7 separate regions of the Homo sapiens genome follow, and regions 2, 3, 4, 5, 6 and 7 are each linked to region 1. The links are contacts of gene promoters, found by promoter capture Hi-C in blood cells and fetal thymus (Javierre and others, 2016). All regions are on one chromosome and are shown on one strand. Each heading gives the region's core, a stretch centred on a gene start or on the middle of the fragment in contact. The rest is flanking DNA. Distances are from core to core; before and after follow the strand shown. Region 1 holds the start of ZNF229 (zinc finger protein 229). Region 2 holds the start of ZNF284 (zinc finger protein 284). Region 3 holds the start of ZNF224 (zinc finger protein 224). Region 4 overlaps ZNF224 (zinc finger protein 224). Region 5 overlaps ZNF225 (zinc finger protein 225). Region 6 overlaps ZNF234 (zinc finger protein 234). Region 7 has its middle 22 kb from the start of ZNF227.

Region 1 (2,762 bases), core at 106-2,605:
TGGCAATTTTTTAGAATTTATCAAAACAATTCGATAATCTGTTTATAAGAGAGAGTTCTAGAACTTCTAGGATGAAATTTTTGAAACACAACAAGGAGGGAGAGATAAGGAAATGAGTTATCACTGTAACTGAAACCTTTCATCATGGCACAGAAAAAGCAATCTCTATCTTCAGAACACACTTGTATCCCAGAAAATATTTCATTATATATATAGTAATGTAGTAAGTGATTAGGATGCCGTTTAAATCAGAAAGGAAAGAATTAATATTTATGTAAATTTTGTTAAGAAAAGTAGACAATCCTTTGGTGAAACAGGAAACTCCATCTTCCTTTCATATCATACACTTAAATGAATCACGCGGTGATTCAAAAGAAAAATGAAAGAGCCTGAAATGAATATAGATATGCACTTATTGGGAATCAGGCTAAGGAATGTCTTTTTGGTCATACTGGAGAAAAAAAAGAAGCCACAAATGAAAAGACTGATATACCTTGTCAGATGAAGTTTTTTGTTTTTTTTTTTTTCTAAACTACTTTATAAATGTTGAAACTGGGGGAGCAATTCATCACTTAGAAGCGATATCATTCATACACAGAGAGTGTATGACAATAAAAGATGACAATGAAATGCAATCGGTAATAAGCATATTTACTCTGTCAAATTGGGAAAATAAGACAGGATATTTAGTCCATCAAATTGGGAAAATATTAAAGAAAGTGATTGTGTGTAGTTTTGATATCATAAAATTAGAAGTGTAAGTTCAATGCAGGACAAAGGGGTAACTTCCCTAAAAACTAAAGAATGCTAGGCAAGTATTGCAAATAATTTGTGTTTTTTTATTATCTCTATGTATCTCTACGTCTTTTGTGACATACAGAACTATCCACGATATATGACCTGTGGCAAGAAATGATTACAAAATATTATGATGCCATTTGGGAAATGGGATTCTTAAGAATTCATATTTACTCACATAAACCAGGGATTAAGTAAGAATTTTTTTTAAACCATTCTTTACATGTAATATGAACTACTTTTGAAATAAATATTTAGTTGGCTTTTACACCAGAAAATCAATAATGCTTTATATCCCTGGTGATGGGATGATGGGCTTGTTTGAGAATATAGTCAGGTTTGCTACAACGCGAATATGTTAGTACTGAGTAAAGACATTCTTTTCAACTCAGAAACACCTTGCATGCCGCCTCCCGCCGCCTCGCAGTGGGCGTGACTCGAGGTGGACGCGCATTTACGACACCATCGCCCCTAGGATCGGACTGCGCTGCGGAGGGTTCTGGGAAAGGTAGTCCCACACCTCGAGTCGACTACTTCCGTTTCCGGTGGGCGCGTCACCTTGATTGCTTCTTAGGCAGTGGTGAGGCGTCTTAGAGACGTGCATCTCCATGCGGTTGTACTGTCAGGCCATGGGAATTAGGATCGGCTCTATAGGACCAGTGTGAAGGGACAACGTGCGGCGGAGGGTCGAAGCCCACGGATTTCCATGAGCTCGGCCTGGTGAGGCAGGGGTGTAAGGAGGCGCACGTATCGAACATTCTGAGCGCCTGTGCGGGGTGGGCCCGGGTCGGCAGCCCTCGCAGTCCAGGCTTGGAAAAGCAGTTTGAGGCCAGCTCTGGCTTTGAGATGAGATCTGCAGTGCGGGAGACTCCACTGTGTCAGTTGCGGATCGATGACATGAATTTTCTCAGGGTAGCCGCCCACCCACTTGTGGAGTAATTTCAGAGTTTTCTGCGAAGTCATTTCTGTAAACAGGAAGTTGATTCCCTGTGTTCTAATTTTATCCTTTGAAATGTATTAAGCGCTGTGCAAGTCCTAGGAGTTGGTTTGCTGTATCGTTGCTGGCTCTGCTTTTTGTAGCCGCCTAAGCACACACAGGCAGAATTTCACTTGTAAGTGTCCCACAGCATGTGACAGTCAGCTCTGGATTAAAATCTTGAGATTTTGTCTTGATTCTCCTTGTCTCCTGAAAGGGGCAGTGAAAGTAGGCTTGTAGACGGTTTCTTTGGGCATCAGGAATGGCGTGTCCCTTGTACTCTGAGTCCTGTAGGAAGAGAGGTTCTTTTCCTCGGCTCCTGAAGCAAGTAGCGAGGGTAGATTACAGGAAGGGGTAGATTACATCCAGCTGGCACTGAGAGATTTCCCCCTGTGGCGTGGTGGGAATTGGGATTAAATCATGTTATCCTGCTGTTCATTTTTCTTTCACAGGCTTCCTTCTTGGAATTGTTCGTTTCTCGGAGATAATTGTATAAAAGAAGGAGAAATAACCCCACATCTCTTGACACTAGAGCTCCAGGTGAGTGAACTTTGGTTCTCTTTTGTGGCAATGCCAGGTCTCTTGGTGACCTCATTCTTCATCCCATTGATATCACAAATGTTCATTCAGACCCCTTAGCCACACCTGCCTTCCCCTAGAAATGGGGGAGGTTTGAGGAATTTCCCAGTGTCTTTATTTAGTGTATTCTCTTCTTGGCTCCTAGTAGTGTGTCACTGGGTCAGTAAAGGCTTACACTGTTTCAGCGCCATGCTGAAGAAACGCAGGGTAGAAATAATTAGAGTAACTGTGATGGTGTATATTAACTGAGTGCTTACTATATGCCAGGTATTATTTATCCATGGTGTCTAGGACAGTGCCAGGCTTGCCAATAAATATTTGAATAAATGAATGTATTTCTATTGAATTTTCTGAGCAAGTTTGTATGTTAGCTATTATCCCCATGTCACAGATGAGTTGCTAAGGTTTA
Region 2 (2,762 bases), core at 79-2,578, 380 kb after region 1:
TTGTACTACTCGTATTTCTCCAATTTCTGAACGCTCCACAATCATACCGCTGCATAACAAGTGAAATATTTGTAATAAATGAAATAGTTCTAATGAATGAAATAGTTGATAAACTCCCAGAACAGTCCAAGCCCATAAGCCTTGCTCTCAAGGCTCCCTTCAATCAAGTCCTAGCTTGCTTTCCCCACTAGATTCCAGCTAGTTCCTCTGCCTCAATGAGAATGTATCCAAAAGATTATCAACTAAGGCTCTGACCTGTAACGCCCAGGTTTCAACCGCAGCTCCACCTCTTACTGCTTAGGTGACTATTCTCAGATAACTCCTGCTCCTTTGTATCTCACTCATCTTTAAAACTGAAAAAAGTAGTACCTCTCCACAGAGCCACGGTGTGGCGAAAATGTGACTACTTGTATAAAGCTCTTGGGATAAAGTTACCAATTGAGGCTTAATTATTATCAACACCCATGCCTGAGGACACATCCTACACTCTTGGTCGGGGTGAGCATCTCTGTAAAAGAAAAAAAGCCAAGGACCACTCTCGTGGAACTTTGCCCTCAGTAGCCAAGAAGTCCCTCCCTGCAGCTCTTTTTGAGAATCAGGCTGGGGAAGGAGAAAGCTGTGAAACACCCTGACCGCATTGCCGTCCGGCATAAAAGTTAAATGTTCCTCTCCCTTCGTGGAAATGGAAACAACCCTCGCCTTCCTAAAAAGAGGTCAGAAGCGTCCGGGATCACCCAGCGTCCTGCAGGAATCAGAGACAAGGGCGGGGATCCCTGCAGATGGAGCTCTGACCCCACCCGGGGACCTGACAGGCTTCGTGGGAAATAAACACTAAGAAGAGACCACCAGTCACTAAGGGAGGGGCTGCTTTAAGGCTTTCATTTGTGTTACCTCTTCCAGTTCCCAAAACGATTTCATTAGGATGGTCCTAAAGTCCCCATTTTAAAGAACAGCAGTGGGAGGTACAGGGAGATTAATAACATCCCAACCCTAAATTGTGAGAAAGTAGCCTCACAGGTGGGATGGAGGGAGGCGGACTGAGCGAGCTGAGAGCCCCAAAAACCCTCAAACCAGGCGAGACGCGTCCCGACCAAGTCCCAACCCCCAGCCTCATGCCCGGGGACGCGAGGACAGCCCCAAGACCAAGAAGGCTCCGCTGACAAGAACGAAAAGAGAGGCCGTTGTCCCTCCAAACCTCCGTTTTCCAACGAGACTCCTTCTCCCCTTAGTCAACTTCCAGGTGGTTGCGAGCCAGCATCGTAAGGGGACACGTTTAGAAGGACCGACAAGACACAGGACTGACACCAAACTACCACCGAATGCACTGCAGCAACCTCGCCCCCCGGGAGCGGAAGTGCCCCTACCCCGCGCAGCGTGTGAACTACATTTCCCAGAATTCCCCGGATACGCCGTCCTGAGCCTACTTGCTCGTCATTCAACAGATCTCCTGCGCTACACTTCCTTGAATCTCAAAGGAGACGTTCTATAGTATCACCTTCCGGCGGGAAGCGTGGGACTCCGCGGTGCTCTTTGACTACACTTCCTGCAATGCCCACGAGGAATGAATCCCATAGACCCAAGCGCCTGGTTTGGAATATGGACTGTGGCCCTGAGAGTGGTCCTTCCCTCTCCCTGCGTCCTCGAGAGAAAATATTGAATAGACAGGAATTCCTGAAGTCTACACGCCTCCCATGATGACAGGAGTGTTACTGAAAGAGAACAAAGCAAGGAGATACAATCTTCAAGGAGTTAGCGGGGAGTGACTGTGGAGCGGTCAGGAGATGGCTGAAAGGCTAATATACTAGACGCTAATAGTATGAGGCTAAATCTAAGAGCTTAAATAATGGGCCAGGAAAAATGGTTTGGGAGAGGCATTGAGTGGGGCACCAGCCCCTGGTACAACCAGACACTGTTGTACCACTGGTTTGGCAAGAAAAACAACCACAGTTTAAGTGTTTAAGAGGGCTGTAAGAGTTAAAGAGAAAAAAAAAAAAAACACGAAAAGCGGCTCAACAGTCAAAGACAGGTTCGTTTTGGAGAATAAACCGAGAGGGCCTTCTGGCCGATTGCAGTCAGGAGCGCTCTCTCTTACGGACTAAGAGTATGTATTGGCTTTAGGGAGAGAGAGCTTACCACAGGCTTAGAATGTTTCTGTATTGGGGAGAAGTCTGTTGTGGGGTTGGAATATCTCTGGTTGGAGGGGAAGTTATCTTGGGACTGACATCTCTCCAATGGAAGGGAGGTTATCTCGGTGCTGGCATGTCTCTGGTCAGGGAGGGGTTTATCTTATGGTTGGAATGTTTCTGATTGGAGATGTCATTTGTGGTTTATGGTCATGCTGACCTTAGCCATTAGGCTGATGCCCTTTGGATTTAGGCAGTTTTTGATCAACGCGAACTTTAAAATGGCAGTGTTTGTCCAAGATGGCGATGCTCCTGCCCTGTCAAGGGCCAATATGGAGGGCCAATTGCCCTCCTGGAAAAGCTATCTTCCCACTTTTAAAGTTTTCATATTAATATTCTTTAGACGTGGAAATGCCACATTTAAGAGAAATTAAACTGCTTAGTATTGTGAAAGGAAAATATCTTGGGCCCCCAAAATCACTAAGGAAATCTCAAGCTGGAAATCGCTTAGGGCAAACCTGCCTCCCATTCTATTCAAAGTCACTCCTCTATCTGTCCTTGCTATCACGAGAACAGCATGGGAAAGACCCACTCCCATGATTCAATTACCTCCTACTAGGTCCCTTTCATGATATGTGG
Region 3 (2,762 bases), core at 98-2,597, 350 kb after region 1:
ACCTCGTGATCCGCCCGCCTGGACCTCCCAAAGTGCTGGGATTACAGGCGTAAGCCACCGCGCCAGGCCCATTTTGTTCTTAATAAAGAAAAATAGAATGCTGTACAATGACATGGTTCTATAAGAATACAAAATATTTGTAATGATTGAAACAAAATAGTTGACAACATTTTTAGAAACTCAGAAAATTTCAAGCCCCTAAGTCTTGCTTTCCCCACCTAAGTCCAACTAGTTCCTCTGCCTCAGTGACAACGTATCCCAAGAGAAGATCAAATCAGGCTCTGACCCAGACTGCTTAGGTTCCAACCCCAGCTCCACCTCTCACTAGTCGGGTGCCTATGCGCTCTGTGTCTCACTTTCGTTTTTAAAATAGAAAAAAGCAATACTTCTCCACAGAGCCACGGTGTGGCGTAAATTTATTTGTATAAAGCCCTTAGAATGAAGTTACTAATTAAGACTTAATTATTATCGACCCCCATGCCCGAGGACACAACCTATACACTCTCGGTTGGGGTGAGCATCTCGGTCAAAGAGCCAAGGACCACTCACGTAGAGCTTTGCCCTCAGAAGCCAAGAAGTCCCTCCCTGCAGCTCTTCTGGAAAGGTCGGGTTGGGGAACGAGAAAGCTGTGAAACACCTTGACCGCGTCGCCGTCCCCCATAAAAGTTAAATGCTCCTTTCCCTTCATGAAAGTGGACGCAACCCTCGCTCTCCTAAAAAGAGGTCAGAAGGCTTCCGGGATCATCCAGCGTCCTGCAGGGATCAGGGAGAAGGGCCGAGGCCCCTGCAGCTGGAGCTCTGACCCCACCCGGTCCTTCGTGGGAAATTAACAAGAGACCACCAGTCACCAAGTGACAGGGACTGCTTTAAGGCTCTCATTTGTGTTACCTCTTCCAGTTCCCAAAACGATTCCATTAGGATGGCCCTAAAGTCCCCATTTTAAAGAACAGTAACGGGAAACCCAAGGAGATTAACACCCCAACGTTATATCGAGAAGAAGTGGCCACGCGCGTGGGGTGCAGGGGGCGGAGTGGGCGAGCTCAGAGCCCCGGAAACCCTGAAACCAGGTGAGACGCGACCCAACCAAGTACCAATGCCCCCGGGAAGCGAGGACAGACCCAAGCCCAAGAAGGTGCCACGGACGAGAACGCAAACAGCGGCCCTTGCCCCTCCAAACCTCTACTCTCCGACGAGGCCCCTTTTCCCCTAATTCGATCACCAGTTCTTTGAGGATCCAATGCGTAGGTCCAGGAAATTCAGAAGGGCCTGCAACGCGCGGAACTGCCCCAAACTATCGCGGAAAAACTGCAGCAACCTCAGTCCCCGAGCGGAAGTGTCCGCGACTCCACCGAATGTTTGGACTCCACTTCCCAGAATTCCCCGGGACCCGCCAGCCGGAGCCAAACTGACCGCGACTCCACTGAGCGTCTGGACTACACTTCCCAGAATTCCCTGGGACCCAACTGCCGGAGCTAAACCGACCGCGATTCCACTGAGGGTCTGGACTGTACTCCTGCAGCATTACACTCAAAGGGAAGTGTTGACGACTACTGGGAAGCCCTTGACCACTCTTCCCACGGGGAACGAATCTCGTACCCCCGAGCGCCTGTTGGGAAATGTGGACTTCTACCCTGAGAGTCGTCCTTCCCTCTCCCTGGGTGCCTAAGAGAAAATACCGTATAGAAAGGAATTCCTGAAGTCTAAACCCCTCTAGTGAGGACAGGAGTGTTACTGGAAAGGGAACAAGCGAGATGATACACTCTTCAAATAAGTTTTGCCAGTGGTAAGAAATGGCATGTAGTTTTAATTTATAACTCTTGTAAAGATGGCATATTCTTGCATATTTTCAGGTGTCATTATTACATTTTTTGTAAATTGTCCAGATGTTTTGCCCACTTTCTTATTGAGTTTTTGGTTTTATCCCTCACTTTTCAAGCACTGTTCTTATATTCATGATATTAACATTTTATCTCGCAAATATTTTCTCAACAAAAACGTTTTTTTTTATTGTTTTATCTATGCAAAACATTTTAATGTATTTTATTATTTAAAACATCTCTATTGAGGTGTAATGCACAAAACGTGAAATTCACCATTTTAGGATATATGTAGTACAAATAAAAAGTTAGGAAACATTTTCATCACCCCAAAAACCCCATACCCACTAAGCAGTCACTGTCTAACACTAATCTCTGTCCTATTGAATTACCTATTGTGGACATTTCATATAAATGGAATTATACATTATGGAACCTTTTGTTTCTGACACCTTTCACTTAGCATCCTGCTTCTTTTTTTTTTTTTTGAGACGGAATCTCAAAAAAAGTGCCAGGCTGGAGTGCAGTGGCACGATCTTAGCTCACTGCAACCTCCGCCTCCCGGGTTCAAGCGATTCTCCTGTCTCAGCCTCCCGAGTAGCTGGGACTACAGGCGCGTGCCACCACGCCTGGCTAATTTTTCTGTATTTTTAGTAGAGACGGGGTTTCACCGTGTTAGCCAGGATGGTCTCGATCTCTTGACCTCGTGATCCTCCCGCCTCGGCCTCCCAAAGTGCTGGGATTACAGGCGTGAGCCACCGCGCCCTGCCAGCATACTGCTTTTAAAGTTCATCCACATCACAGCATGTACCAGTACTTCATAATATTTTATGTTTCTACTACGATTTGTTTTTTTTGTTTGCTTTGTCTTGTTTTGTTTTGAGGTGGGGTTTCCCTCTTGATGCCCAGGCTGGAGTGCAATGGCACGATCTCAGCTCACTGCAA
Region 4 (2,762 bases), core at 120-2,619, 340 kb after region 1:
CCACCACCTCTTGAATTACAAAACATTTTTATCACCCAAAGAAAACCCCATGCCCACTAAGCAATCACTACTGTTGTCCATAATCCCATTCCTGGGGAAACATGAATCTTTCTCTCTTTTCTATTACCTATTTTGGACAAATCATAAAAATGAATGGAACATTTTGTTTCTAACTCCCTTTGCTTAGCATAATATTTTTAATGTTATTCACATCATACCACGTATCAGTACTTCATTCCTTTTCATAGATGAATATTTTATGTTTATACTACAATTTGTTTCTCCATTCATACATTGACGCACATTTGGCTTCTTTTCACCTTTTGGCTGTAGTGAACAGTGTTGCTACAAATGTTCGTGTATACGTATTTGTTTCATTACCAGCTTTCAGTTTTGGTTGTTTTTTGTTTGTTTTTTGTTTTGAGAGGGAGTTTCGCCTCCCGCGTTCAAGCGATTCTCCTGCCTCAGCCTCCAGCGTAGCTGGGATTACAAGCATGTGCCACCACGCCCGGCTAATTTTGTATTTTTAGTAGAGAGGGGGTTTCTCCATGCTGGTCAGGCTGGTCTCAAACTCCCGACCTCAGGTGATTCACCCGCCTCGGCCTCCCAAAATGCTGGGATCACAGGCGTGAGCCACCGCGTCCAACCGTGTATTCCACTTCTTTCTGCTGCTGAGACACAATAATTTCAGATGACTTCTCTTTATATTCACTCATTCTGAATACAGCAAGAGTAGGGAGATGAATATTAGGTGCACTTACCTGTGGCTTCAGAGCCTGCACAAACACAATCTCATATATACCACTTCCAAATGGAATACTAATCTGCACATGTAACTTAAAAAGGTGCAGGGGTCAACACCCGATTCATGATGGAAAGCATAAGTCACATGTTAATTTGGTGGTCTGTGGTCAAGTGTTCTGTCCGTTTTAAGACCCCTAGTGGCCGGGCGTGGTGGCTCACACCTGTAATCCCAGCACTTTGGGAGGCCAAGGCGGGTGGATCACGAGGTCAGGAGTTTGAGGCCAGCCTGGCCAAGATGGTGAAACCCCGTCTCTACTAAAAATACAAAAATCAGCCGGGTGCGGTGGCGGGGCACCTGCAATCCTAGCTACTCGGGAGGCTGAGGCAGGAGAATCGCTTGAAACCGGGAGGCAGAGGTTGCAGTGAGCCAAGATTGCACCACTGCACTCTAGCTTGGGCCACAGAGCAAGACTCGTCTCAAAAAACAAAAACAAAAACAAAACAAAACAAAACACCCTAGCAAAATGAAAAGCTTCTTCTCCAGAGGAGAGTAAGTATATGCAGAGGATGGCAGAAATTTGCTTCAAAATACTAAGCATCTGAATTTTGATTCTCCAATTAGGGCCAACCATAGGCTTCAAACATACTATCTGCCACGGACATTTCAAACACTTTTGGACCCCCGGGGTCACAGGGTTTTAGTGGCAGAGAAGCTTACGTGGAAGCTGGGACATATTACACAAACTTCTCTTGTCTGGGACAAGTCAAAGTTTTTGGGTCACTCATAAAAGTCAGAGTAGCACAATCGAAACAATAAGTTGCATCCAATATCAAAAATGGCACACTAAGCATTGTGACATTTTCTTTGCTTGTAGGGGGGTGATAAGCCCTATTTGTTCTATACCTTAGAAAATATATCACTTTAACTTAACACACTTAAGATATTACTATGGTGTATACCTGATGAATTAACATCTGACAATAGTTTGAATATGTATCCCCTCCAAATCTCATGTTGAAGTATGACCTCCAGTGTTGGAGGTCGGGACTATTGGAAGGTGCTTGGTCATGGAAGCAGATCCTTCATAAACATTGGTGTCCCCACCATGGTAATGAATGAGTTCGCACTCTTAATTCACACAAGAGCTGGTTGTTTAAAAGATCGTGGCATAAAAAAATTAAAAATGCATGGAAGTATAAAATGGAAAAATGCCTGCAAACACTCATTGCCAGCAAAGATCAGTAAAAATATTCATTTACACAGTATGTAAACACTCAAAAGAACATAAAACACACAAAGATATTTATTTGATTAGGTTATGAAGGCTAAAAAAAGCCACATTGTTTTTCTCCTTTTGTTATTGTGTCTATGTCATCATCTCATTGAGTTCATATTATTATAGGAATAAATGCAATTCACACAAATTCCTGTTCTTGAACACTTGTTCTTTCCATTTTAAAATGCAGTGACATCATCAATGTGGTCTTCTACTTTTTGGAGTTTTAGTGTCATAGGCATAGTTTCCTATCCTATGGTTTTCATATCAAACAGTTGCACCTTATACATTCTGGCATGTTCTGCTCTCCAAAAGACATATTTTTACTGCCAGCAATAAAGAGGAGGATTTAAATGTTACTCCTGCCCCCAATAATGAATATATTTGATGAAATTACCAAACTCCATTTTCTCTTCCTGTTTCATAGCGTTGGTGGAAGAATATTGGATAAGAAGGTTGACAAAAGCTGTCATTCAAATTTAGAATATTTTATACCAGAGAAGTTAAAAAAAAAAAAGAAATTGTACAGCAATTAAAAGGCAATCATACCAAGGCCTGCATAGAAATCACAAATCATGATCAATCTAGGATTGACTAAGAAAATTTCTGTCAATGTACATCTGGCACTTTAAAAGTGTTACTGTAAATCTTGCCTTAATACTGTTGAAAACACTTAATTGTGAAATATGCAGTGGTCTGTTATTGCAAAATTAACCAAACCTTTTCAGTCTATACTGTGAG
Region 5 (2,762 bases), core at 132-2,631, 320 kb after region 1:
TGTGAACCATGGAATGCCTATTAAGATTTGCTCTACTACGGAAGCTCTTACAACATATATCACATTTGAATGGCTTCTCCCCAGTATGGATTCTTTGATGTTCCTGAAGCTGGGAATCATGAATGAAGGCCTTCCCACATTTCTCACAAATATGAGGTTTCACTCCTGTGTGTAATTTACGATGAACATAAAGTCCTGATCTACGACTAAAGCCTTTCCCACACTGCTCACATTTGAATGGTTTCTCTCCAGTGTGGATTCTCTGATGAATTTGCAGATGTGAGCTCTGATTGAATTCCTTACCACACACATCACAATTATAGAGTTTCTCCCCCATGTGAACTCTCTGATGAATACGAAGAGCTGAGCTATAACAGAAACTCTTTCCACATTCATCACATGTATGAGACTTCTCTCTTGACTGTAGTTGTTGATGAAGATCAAGGACGGAGACATCACTAAAGGACTTTTTACACGTCCTACCCTCAGAAGGTTTCTGTCTTACGTGAATTATAGATAGTCCTGCATCAACCTGGCAGGGCATATCATCTTGTTTGGAGAACTGAAAGCTGTTTACCATGGAGTCTTGAAACCTGGTTAAGTCACTTGAAATTTGTTCCCAGGTTTGATGACTGAACAAGCCTTCATGTGTTCCTGATTCTGAAACAGTCTCCATCTCCATTTGGATCTTGCCTCCTATAATGACACAGAATTAAGAGATGTGGGCAAGTAAAGCTTTTATTCAGTGTTATCAAGATTTCATACTTAGGACATAGCCTGAAATTTTAATAAATATAGGGAATGTTCAGATTGTATTTTCCTTTTTTTTTTTTTTTTTTTTTTTTGAGATGGAGTCTCGCTCTGTCCCCCAGGCTGGAGTGCAGTGGCGTGATCTCCGCTCACTGCAAGCTCCACCTCCTGGGTTGTTCACACCATTCTCCCGCCTCAGCCTCCTCAGTAGCTGGGACTATAGGCGCCCGCCACCACGCCCAGCTAATTTTTTGTATTCTTAGTACAGATGGGTTTTCACTGTGTTAGCCAGGATGGTCTCGATCTCCTGACCTCGTGATCCGCCCTCCTCAGCCTCCCAAAGTGCTGGGATTACAGGTGTAAGCCACTGCGCCCAGCCCTGTATTTTCCTTTTTTAAAGAGAGTGTCTCCCTCTGTCACCCAGGCTGGAGTGCAGGGACACAATCATGGCTCGCTGCAGCCTTGACCTCCTGGGCTCAAGTGATCCTCCCACCTCTGCCTCCTGAGTAGCTAGGACTACAGGCACATACCACCATAACTAGCTAATTTTTACACTTTTTGTAGAGACAAGGTCTTGCTATGTTGCCAAGGCTGGTCTTGAACTCCTGGCCACAAGTGATACTCCCATTTTGGCCTCCCAAAGTGCTGGGATTACAGGCTTGAGCCACTGTGCCCAGCCAATGTGTTTTCCAGGTACACTATGGACTCTGGTTTGCATGAGACCAATTCAGAACCACACCACGTGTCATATGTGAAATACTTGGTAGAAATAAAACCTTGCATGGTAAATTATGTAACTAATAAATTATGTAAACAGTGAAATATGAATCAAATGTGAACTTTAAGGAGAAGCCATAACATCGTCAAAACTTTGTATATTTTAGTTTGTATTGTATATCCTTATGAAGTAAAGAAATTATCCTAAGTCACAAAGAGGCCTGGGTGATGTCCTCAGCATCTGAGAGGCAATCTCTCAGTCCTTAAAATGTCATGCCCTAGGAGAGTGTCTTTGTTTGCCTGGAGGTAGTAGGTCTAGTAAGTCACTCTGGACGGTGTAATTCTACGATTTAGGATTATGGGTGGCCACACCTATGAGGAGAATGTGGTGCTCACTATGTGAGAAAGACCAACAATGTGATTTATGGTGAGGCTTTAGGTCATGTGGAATCAGTCAACCAGGAGACTGAGACTACTCATACGGGAAAGAAATCAACCAATAATGGCTATGTAATTAACAGACAACGATTACTCTGAATACCAGGGCTCAGGAAAGCTTCCCTGATAGGCTCTCCTCCCGTCTAATGTCACACCTTAATCTTGGGGATGTAATGCATCCTGATTTCATGGGGAGAGTACAATAAAAAGTTCTCATTTGATACTTCCCTGGACTCTGTCTTACTTGATTTTTCTCCTAATTGTAATATGCATCTTTCCCCTATAAAAACCCATAATTTTAAGAATATGGAACATGAAAATAATTTGGGGAAACCACTGAATTTGTCATTGGTATGCAGTGACAGCAGTCTTCTGTGAGCTGTCACTTTAAACTTTGCAATTGGTTAAGCTCTTCACAATACTAAATATCAAATACCTAGGAGTATTTATGTCTACATTTTCAGAGTATTCCTGTACAAGAATTTTTGCAGAACATGTATAATCTCATTTGTCTGTACTGATATGAACAATAACTTGGTTACCTGAAATAGAAAAGGATCAGAAACCTTCAGTTTTGATGGGAATCTGAAAGGCTGGACCTGACAGAAATACACAAAGGGGGATGATCCTGATGAGACAATGAAAGTTGGTAAGATCACCTGGGATGAAAAGAACGCCTAAGGGGTCATGCCCTGATTGGTTCCATGTGAAGTTATTGGACTGTCTCATTGAAAACAGATAGCAGAAAAAATATGATGTAAAGAAACAGACCTTTATACCCATTTTCAAAATAAACACTACAGACTCTTAGTGAGCTGTAAAATAAATCTGAAACCTTCTAAAAAGCATTTAGGAAA
Region 6 (2,762 bases), core at 142-2,641, 300 kb after region 1:
AACTGAACTTACTGGCAATTTGAATTACTACTGTATACTGATCAATCAATCAAAAGTAGTGTTTTCAAACACTTTTAGAAGAACCTAATGAAGAAATATCAGTATTTCAAGATCCAGACACATAGACATAAATATGTGCTATAAAAACCTATTTCTGAAAGGAGTTAGTTCGCTTGCCTTAGGTAGACAGCAAGGGAAGGGTCTTTGGAGAGCCCCTGACCCATGGGTTAGTGTCTTATTTTTATATAACATAAAAAGCAGCCTGGAAAAAAAATTTAAGCTGCAGGCACCAATAAGGGAACTACCACAGGGTGTTGTGCCTGGAGACATGCCCACGGCTGCACAGATAGAAAAACCTCCAGCCCATTTGGATAAAAGCTTGTACATACCTCCAGCTCGCTCAGATAAAGGAGCAAGGCCTGGCATAAGAATGCCTTTGTCCTCTGTATAGTCAGCGGGCTCCCAGGAAAAGGTTTCTTCTCCTTTTGTGGGCATAGGTACAGTGGGCTCCAGTGGGTTCCAGTGGGCACTCTACTTTCTTTTTTTCAAACTGTAAGTCCGGTCTCTATATATCTTTACTTCAACCTGATTGGTCCTGGGCCAAGGTTCCGGGCCAAGCTAAGTCACACTTTCTCCAAAATAGCCCACAAACTAAGCACATTCCTTCCCCTTCCCAGTCCATAAAAACCCCAAACCCCTGCCTCATAGGGGGAATTCCATTTGGGTCCCCCTCTCTGCTGGCAAAAAGCTTTCTTCTTTTGCTTATTAAACCTTCACTCTAACCTCACATTTCTGTCTGCACTCATTAATCTTCTTAAAAATAAAACAAAAAACTCCAGGTGTTATCTCAAACAACAGAAAAACTGTTACATCTTGGTGCATTACTAAAATTACATTTCTAACCAATGTCTTTTTTTTTTGAGACAGTCTCACTCTGTCACCCAGGCTGGAGTGCAGTGGCGTGATCTAGGCTCACTACAACCTCTGCCTCCTGGATTCAAGCGATTCTCATGCCTCAGCCTCCCAAGTAGGTGGGATAAGAGGCATGCACCACCACACCTGGTTAATTTTTGTATTTTTTATTTTTTGGTAGAGATAGAGTTTCATCATGTTGGCCAGGCTGGTCTCGAACTCCCGACCTCAGGTGATCCACCTGCCTCAGCCTCCCAAGGTGCTGGGATTGCAGGCGTGAGCCACTGTGCCTGGCCCCCGTTTATTTTCATTAAATCTCCTCCCACAAGTTCTCACACCACTCATGCAATTTACCAGTTTTATTTGCTATGTATTCCATTAATTTTAGTGAACTCTGATATTTCTATCTCATTTTATTTCACTAAAAACTACTGATAGGAAAGTCAGGTCTACAAATGTAGGCGACTAATTCAAGACCTCCAAAGTGTTGAACCCCTGAAGACACAAAATCACTCCAAGAGACTGACATTGAGTGTTAGAAAGCTCATGTCCTCACCCACTGACAGCAGGTTCCTGAAGTTCTCCAGCATCACATCTTGGTACAGATTCCTCTGGACAGGGTCCAGCAGCCCCAGCTCCTCCTCAGTGAAGACCACAGCCACATCCTTGAAGGTCAGTCCCTCCTATAACATCAAACACACCTTACTTCAGCCTTTTTAACAAACTCTTGAAAAGAAACAGCACTGAGAAAGTGGAGAGTATGTAGGGGGAGCTGGTCCAGATTTTCAGAGACTTAATGTGTAGATTTCTCAGCCCTTCTCCTTCCATCTTACCAATGCCACACTTTGATTTTCCTTAGTGTCAGTAAAAGTACATCAGTAACAATAGCCTTCAATTCCTTTGTGGCTTCACTGAGTCTATTTGTAAGTAACCATCTAGAACTCTAAATGACGCATCCTGAGCCACACGGGTTTCACCTTTCGGTAAATATTACCAATTGCCCCAGAAACATTTAGCAAGTCAGAACCAACATACATGATAACACCCACCTTCCTCCTCTCTCACATAGGAACGCTGGATGCTATCCCTTTTCATTAAAGTCTGCCAAACTAACAAGCTTTTGGTAACATATCTAAAACTGCTATGTAGTTTTCCTTCTGTACACCCAGGGCACACAGCACCAGCATTACCTGCAGCATTTAGTGTCATGATCTGGAGCCATCATGCCTCAGTGCACACAAGGGTACCCTTCAAAGTTGTGTGATCTTGGATAAGTTCACCTAGTTTCATCTTGGTATGATAGTTCTTACATGACAGAGTTCTTTCAAACGTTGAAAAAGAAACTACATATAGCATTTGGAATAGTGTATGGCGCAGACTAAGTACCTAAGAAACATTAGCTATTATCTATTATTATTACCATCATCATCTATTTCACCTCATTTCATGACTGTATATTATTCGAGGGAACTGAAATCTGCATCTACCTGTTCTAATTAATGAATATTTAATTTTCAATATTGTTTTCATTATAACCAATCCAGCAAAGAACATCATTTCATGTAGATCTTACTTTCTTTCCTTTTTTTTTTCTTTTTTTTGAGACAGAGCTTCACTCTTGTTGCCCAGGCTGGAGTGCAATGGCACAATCTTGGCTCACTGCAACCTCTGCCTCCTGGGTTCAAATTATTCTCCTGCCTCAGCCTCCCGAGTAGCTGGGATTATAGGCATGCGCCACCATGCTCAGCTAATTTTGTATTTTTAGTAAAGATGGGATTTCACCATGTTGGTCAGGCTGGTCACGAACTCCTGATCTCAGGTGATCCGCCTGCCTTGGCCTCCCAAAGTTC
Region 7 (2,762 bases), core at 128-2,627, 260 kb after region 1:
GCTATATTTTCTTTAAGTTACATGGATATGTTATTGATGTATATTAAATATTATGTGAAATTTAAAAAGGTCTGATGGTCCTGATGTAATGCTATCAACCACGATTCTGGTTGTTACCTTAAAATGCTAAATACAATAGAAATAATTGAATTTCCTTCTCAACTGCTGAACTCCCATCAGATTTTTAATGATGGTTATTCTAAGTCTTTGACATCCATAGTTTTGATTTTTCTCTAAAGGTATCTGCAATCAGATTCATGGAAAAGACTCTAATAAGTACTCTTAAATACAAGTTTCTAATAACTTCAAGATTAATGAACTAAATAAAACTTTTCACAACTGCAGTGAAGAAACTGATGAATTTGTGAAACTGCTAATCAAGATCAAGCATAACAAAAACTAATTACATGAAATTGAATAACTGATAATGTTTTTATAACTTTTAATTTAAACATTGTTGGTTTTTTACTGAAATGTTTTGTCTTCCAAGTTTAAGGAAACATTTTCTCTTAAGCTATCTATAGTTTACAACAATTTGGTAAAATATACTTCTGTGAACAAAGGTGGAAATATTTATTTTTTTCTATTTGATCCCTTCAAAATTTGGAAGTGATTTGCTAGTGTTTCTTAAATGACAATATAATTATTTGCATACATTCAGTATGAATCTGTACCTCCTTGTAACATGATACAGTTAAAAACATTGGTTGTATTACCAATTAAAACTGGAATGCCATATTTAAATTTTTATTGGTACTGCAAACAAAGTCTGAAGTCTGCCTTTGTTTGGCTTTCTAGACTCAAGGAGGTTTAAAATCTGAGATTCTTGGCCAGGCACGGTGGCTCACACCTGTAATCCCAGCACTTTGGGAGGCCGAGGCGGGCGGATCAAGAGGTCAGGAGATCAAGACCATCCTGGCCAACATGGTGAAACCCCATCTCTACTAAAAATACAAAGAAAATTAGCCAGGCGTGGTGGCGGGCGCCTGTAGTCCCAGCTACTCGGGAGGCTGAGGTAGGAGAATGGCAGGAACCCGGGAGGCGGAGCTTGCAGTGAGCCGAGATCGCGCCACTGTACTCCAGCCTGGGCGACACAGCGAGACTCCGCCTCAAAAAAATAAAATAAAATAAAATCTGAGATTCTTTTGTGCTCAATTTACTACTCTTGCTGCTCTTATGTAAATTATTAAGTAATAAATAAACTTTAAAAAACTAAAATAATAAAACTAATAAAATAATACAAGAACCTAAAATAATAATAAAACTAAACTTATTTACAAACAAATCAGTCTTACTGTAATTATCTTTGGTAGAAATTAGGATAACTATATAGAGACAAAATTATGTTTCTAGAAAAGGACTATAATACATCTGTTATTAGATTGTAGTTCTGTGCATTGTCTTTGAGTTTTTATTATCTACTGTAGACCAGACTGGATCCTAAGTTATTCTAGGTTCCCTAATCTAATTTTCTCCCATGTTATTACTAAGAATGGGAACTACTCTTTCCTAAAGCCCTGTAAGCTGAAGCTAGAAAACTTGATGTAAATTTTAAGAGACAAGCCTCATGCCTGATTTGTGGGTCATGCAGAAAGTTCACCAAACCACCCGATGCTATAACGAGAGACATTCAAACTACAAACCAGGATGAGAAGTTGATGTCTTTATGCTGTGGACAGCTTTCTCAAGATGCCAGAACAATCTTTATCATAATGAGACTGTTGCCCCTCTTAGTTTGTCCTTGCCTATGCTTAACTTTTTCACTGGGCAGGATAATGGTGTAGTTAAAATTTTACAATTAGTAGCTTATGTGGACAACTTGACAAAATGTTAGATCTGTTATGCCAACTGTAGATCTTTACATGACCAAAGAATCCTTTAGTCCAACTTTAAAAATATTCCTAATACAACTGTCACTCACTCTATGCTTTTAATTCAACCCAGTCATGAGATATCAGATGACAAAATTTTTCTATATTATCTACTGGTTAAATAAGGTAGTGTCTATGCTATTGCTAGGACTACATGCATACCTGGATAAATTCCTCTGGGGAAGTTGAGACCCAAATACACAAAATAAGAAAACACGCACATAGTTACATTAGGTCTCACCTAATTCCCAATGATCATTTGATTGATTCAGTTGCTTGCCTTTAAGCCCAGGTTCATGGCTCGAAACCATTATGCAAACTGGGATGATCATATTAGTATAAATTTTACTTCGTATCTTTCTTTTTAAACTTTGTACCTGTTGCCTGTCAAATTTCTGTGGAAGTACAACTCCTAACACAATAATGCTGGCCTACAGCTTTGAAATAATAGCCCACACCTACAGAACAAACAAAATTGAACTTAACAACGGACTCCAGGTAGACCTAGCCTAAGAGCCACTCCCTCCAAACCTCCATTGTTGCTCAAATGTCATGACCTTACACAAACAAAACTACTTCCATGAAGACATCTACCCAGCAACTGGCTGTCCAACCTTGGACTGATACCACCGTTGTTACTGAACCCTGTGGTCAAGAAAAATTGTTTCAAAACAACTTATGTGGCCCTTTTCATTTTTCCTTATAAAACTCTTGTCTTCATTTACCTCCCTGAATATACCCACTGTATTCCCATTGAAATGCTCATTCCTGAATAAATGTAATTTTATTTTAGAGAGACTCTGTCTCTTCTATTTAGATTGACATTTATATCAGACAAAATAGACTTAAGACAAAAACTGTCACAAGAGACAAAGAAGGATATCATATAAT

What was found. Contacts are between HindIII fragments. The CHiCAGO score rates a contact against its expected background, and 5 or more counts as called.
Region 2: the fragment with the promoter of ZNF284 here is called in contact with the fragment with the promoter of ZNF229 in region 1 in 5 of 17 cell types (naive B cells, erythroblasts, fetal thymus and 2 more); the score reaches 6.5 in naive B cells.
Region 3: the fragment with the promoter of ZNF224 here is called in contact with the fragment with the promoter of ZNF229 in region 1 in 11 of 17 cell types (erythroblasts, naive B cells, fetal thymus and 8 more); the score reaches 10.6 in erythroblasts.
Region 4: a fragment that was not itself captured here is called in contact with the fragment with the promoter of ZNF229 in region 1 in 4 of 17 cell types (total B cells, fetal thymus, naive B cells and 1 more); the score reaches 7.0 in total B cells.
Region 5: a fragment that was not itself captured here is called in contact with the fragment with the promoter of ZNF229 in region 1 in 3 of 17 cell types (naive B cells, neutrophils and total CD8 T cells); the score reaches 5.8 in naive B cells.
Region 6: a fragment that was not itself captured here is called in contact with the fragment with the promoter of ZNF229 in region 1 in 3 of 17 cell types (erythroblasts, total B cells and M2 macrophages); the score reaches 7.5 in erythroblasts.
Region 7: a fragment that was not itself captured here is called in contact with the fragment with the promoter of ZNF229 in region 1 in 1 of 17 cell types (M2 macrophages); the score reaches 5.1 in M2 macrophages.

The regions. Positions count from the first base shown.
Region 1 is chr19:44,447,065-44,449,826 of GRCh38, reverse strand. ZNF229 (zinc finger protein 229) reads left to right here and starts at 1,355. Exons shown (of 6, transcript NM_014518.4): 1 at 1,355-1,518; 2 at 2,227-2,314. The HindIII fragment of the contact is 11,359 bases long and covers 1-2,762 here.
Region 2 is chr19:44,070,725-44,073,486 of GRCh38, reverse strand. ZNF284 (zinc finger protein 284) reads right to left here and starts at 1,328. Exons shown (of 5, transcript NM_001037813.4): 1 at 1,196-1,328. The HindIII fragment of the contact is 12,821 bases long and covers 1-2,762 here.
Region 3 is chr19:44,092,946-44,095,707 of GRCh38, reverse strand. ZNF224 (zinc finger protein 224) reads right to left here and starts at 1,347. Exons shown (of 6, transcript NM_001321645.3): 1 at 1,178-1,347. RefSeq lists an enhancer at 1,428-1,537. The HindIII fragment of the contact is 10,144 bases long and covers 1-2,762 here.
Region 4 is chr19:44,109,095-44,111,856 of GRCh38, reverse strand. ZNF224 (zinc finger protein 224) reads right to left here. Exons shown (of 6, transcript NM_001321645.3): 6 at 2,031-2,762. All of the region lies in intron 1 of ZNF225-AS1 (ZNF225 and ZNF224 antisense RNA 1), which reads left to right. It also overlaps a transcript of ZNF225 not described here. Among named protein-coding and RNA genes, the nearest start is that of ZNF225-AS1, 2.7 kb to the left of the region's middle. The HindIII fragment of the contact is 181 bases long and covers 1,279-1,459 here.
Region 5 is chr19:44,128,784-44,131,545 of GRCh38, reverse strand. ZNF225 (zinc finger protein 225) reads right to left here. Exons shown (of 5, transcript NM_013362.4): 5 at 1-696. Among named protein-coding and RNA genes, the nearest start is that of ZNF234, 11 kb to the left of the region's middle. The HindIII fragment of the contact is 1,288 bases long and covers 738-2,025 here.
Region 6 is chr19:44,147,604-44,150,365 of GRCh38, reverse strand. It overlaps ZNF234 (zinc finger protein 234), which reads right to left. Exons shown (of 6, transcript NM_006630.3): 4 at 1,469-1,595. Among named protein-coding and RNA genes, the nearest start is that of ZNF234, 7.4 kb to the right of the region's middle. The HindIII fragment of the contact is 1,281 bases long and covers 751-2,031 here.
Region 7 is chr19:44,188,701-44,191,462 of GRCh38, reverse strand. It overlaps a transcript of ZNF226 not described here. Among named protein-coding and RNA genes, the nearest start is that of ZNF227, 22 kb to the left of the region's middle. The HindIII fragment of the contact is 4,753 bases long and covers 1-2,762 here.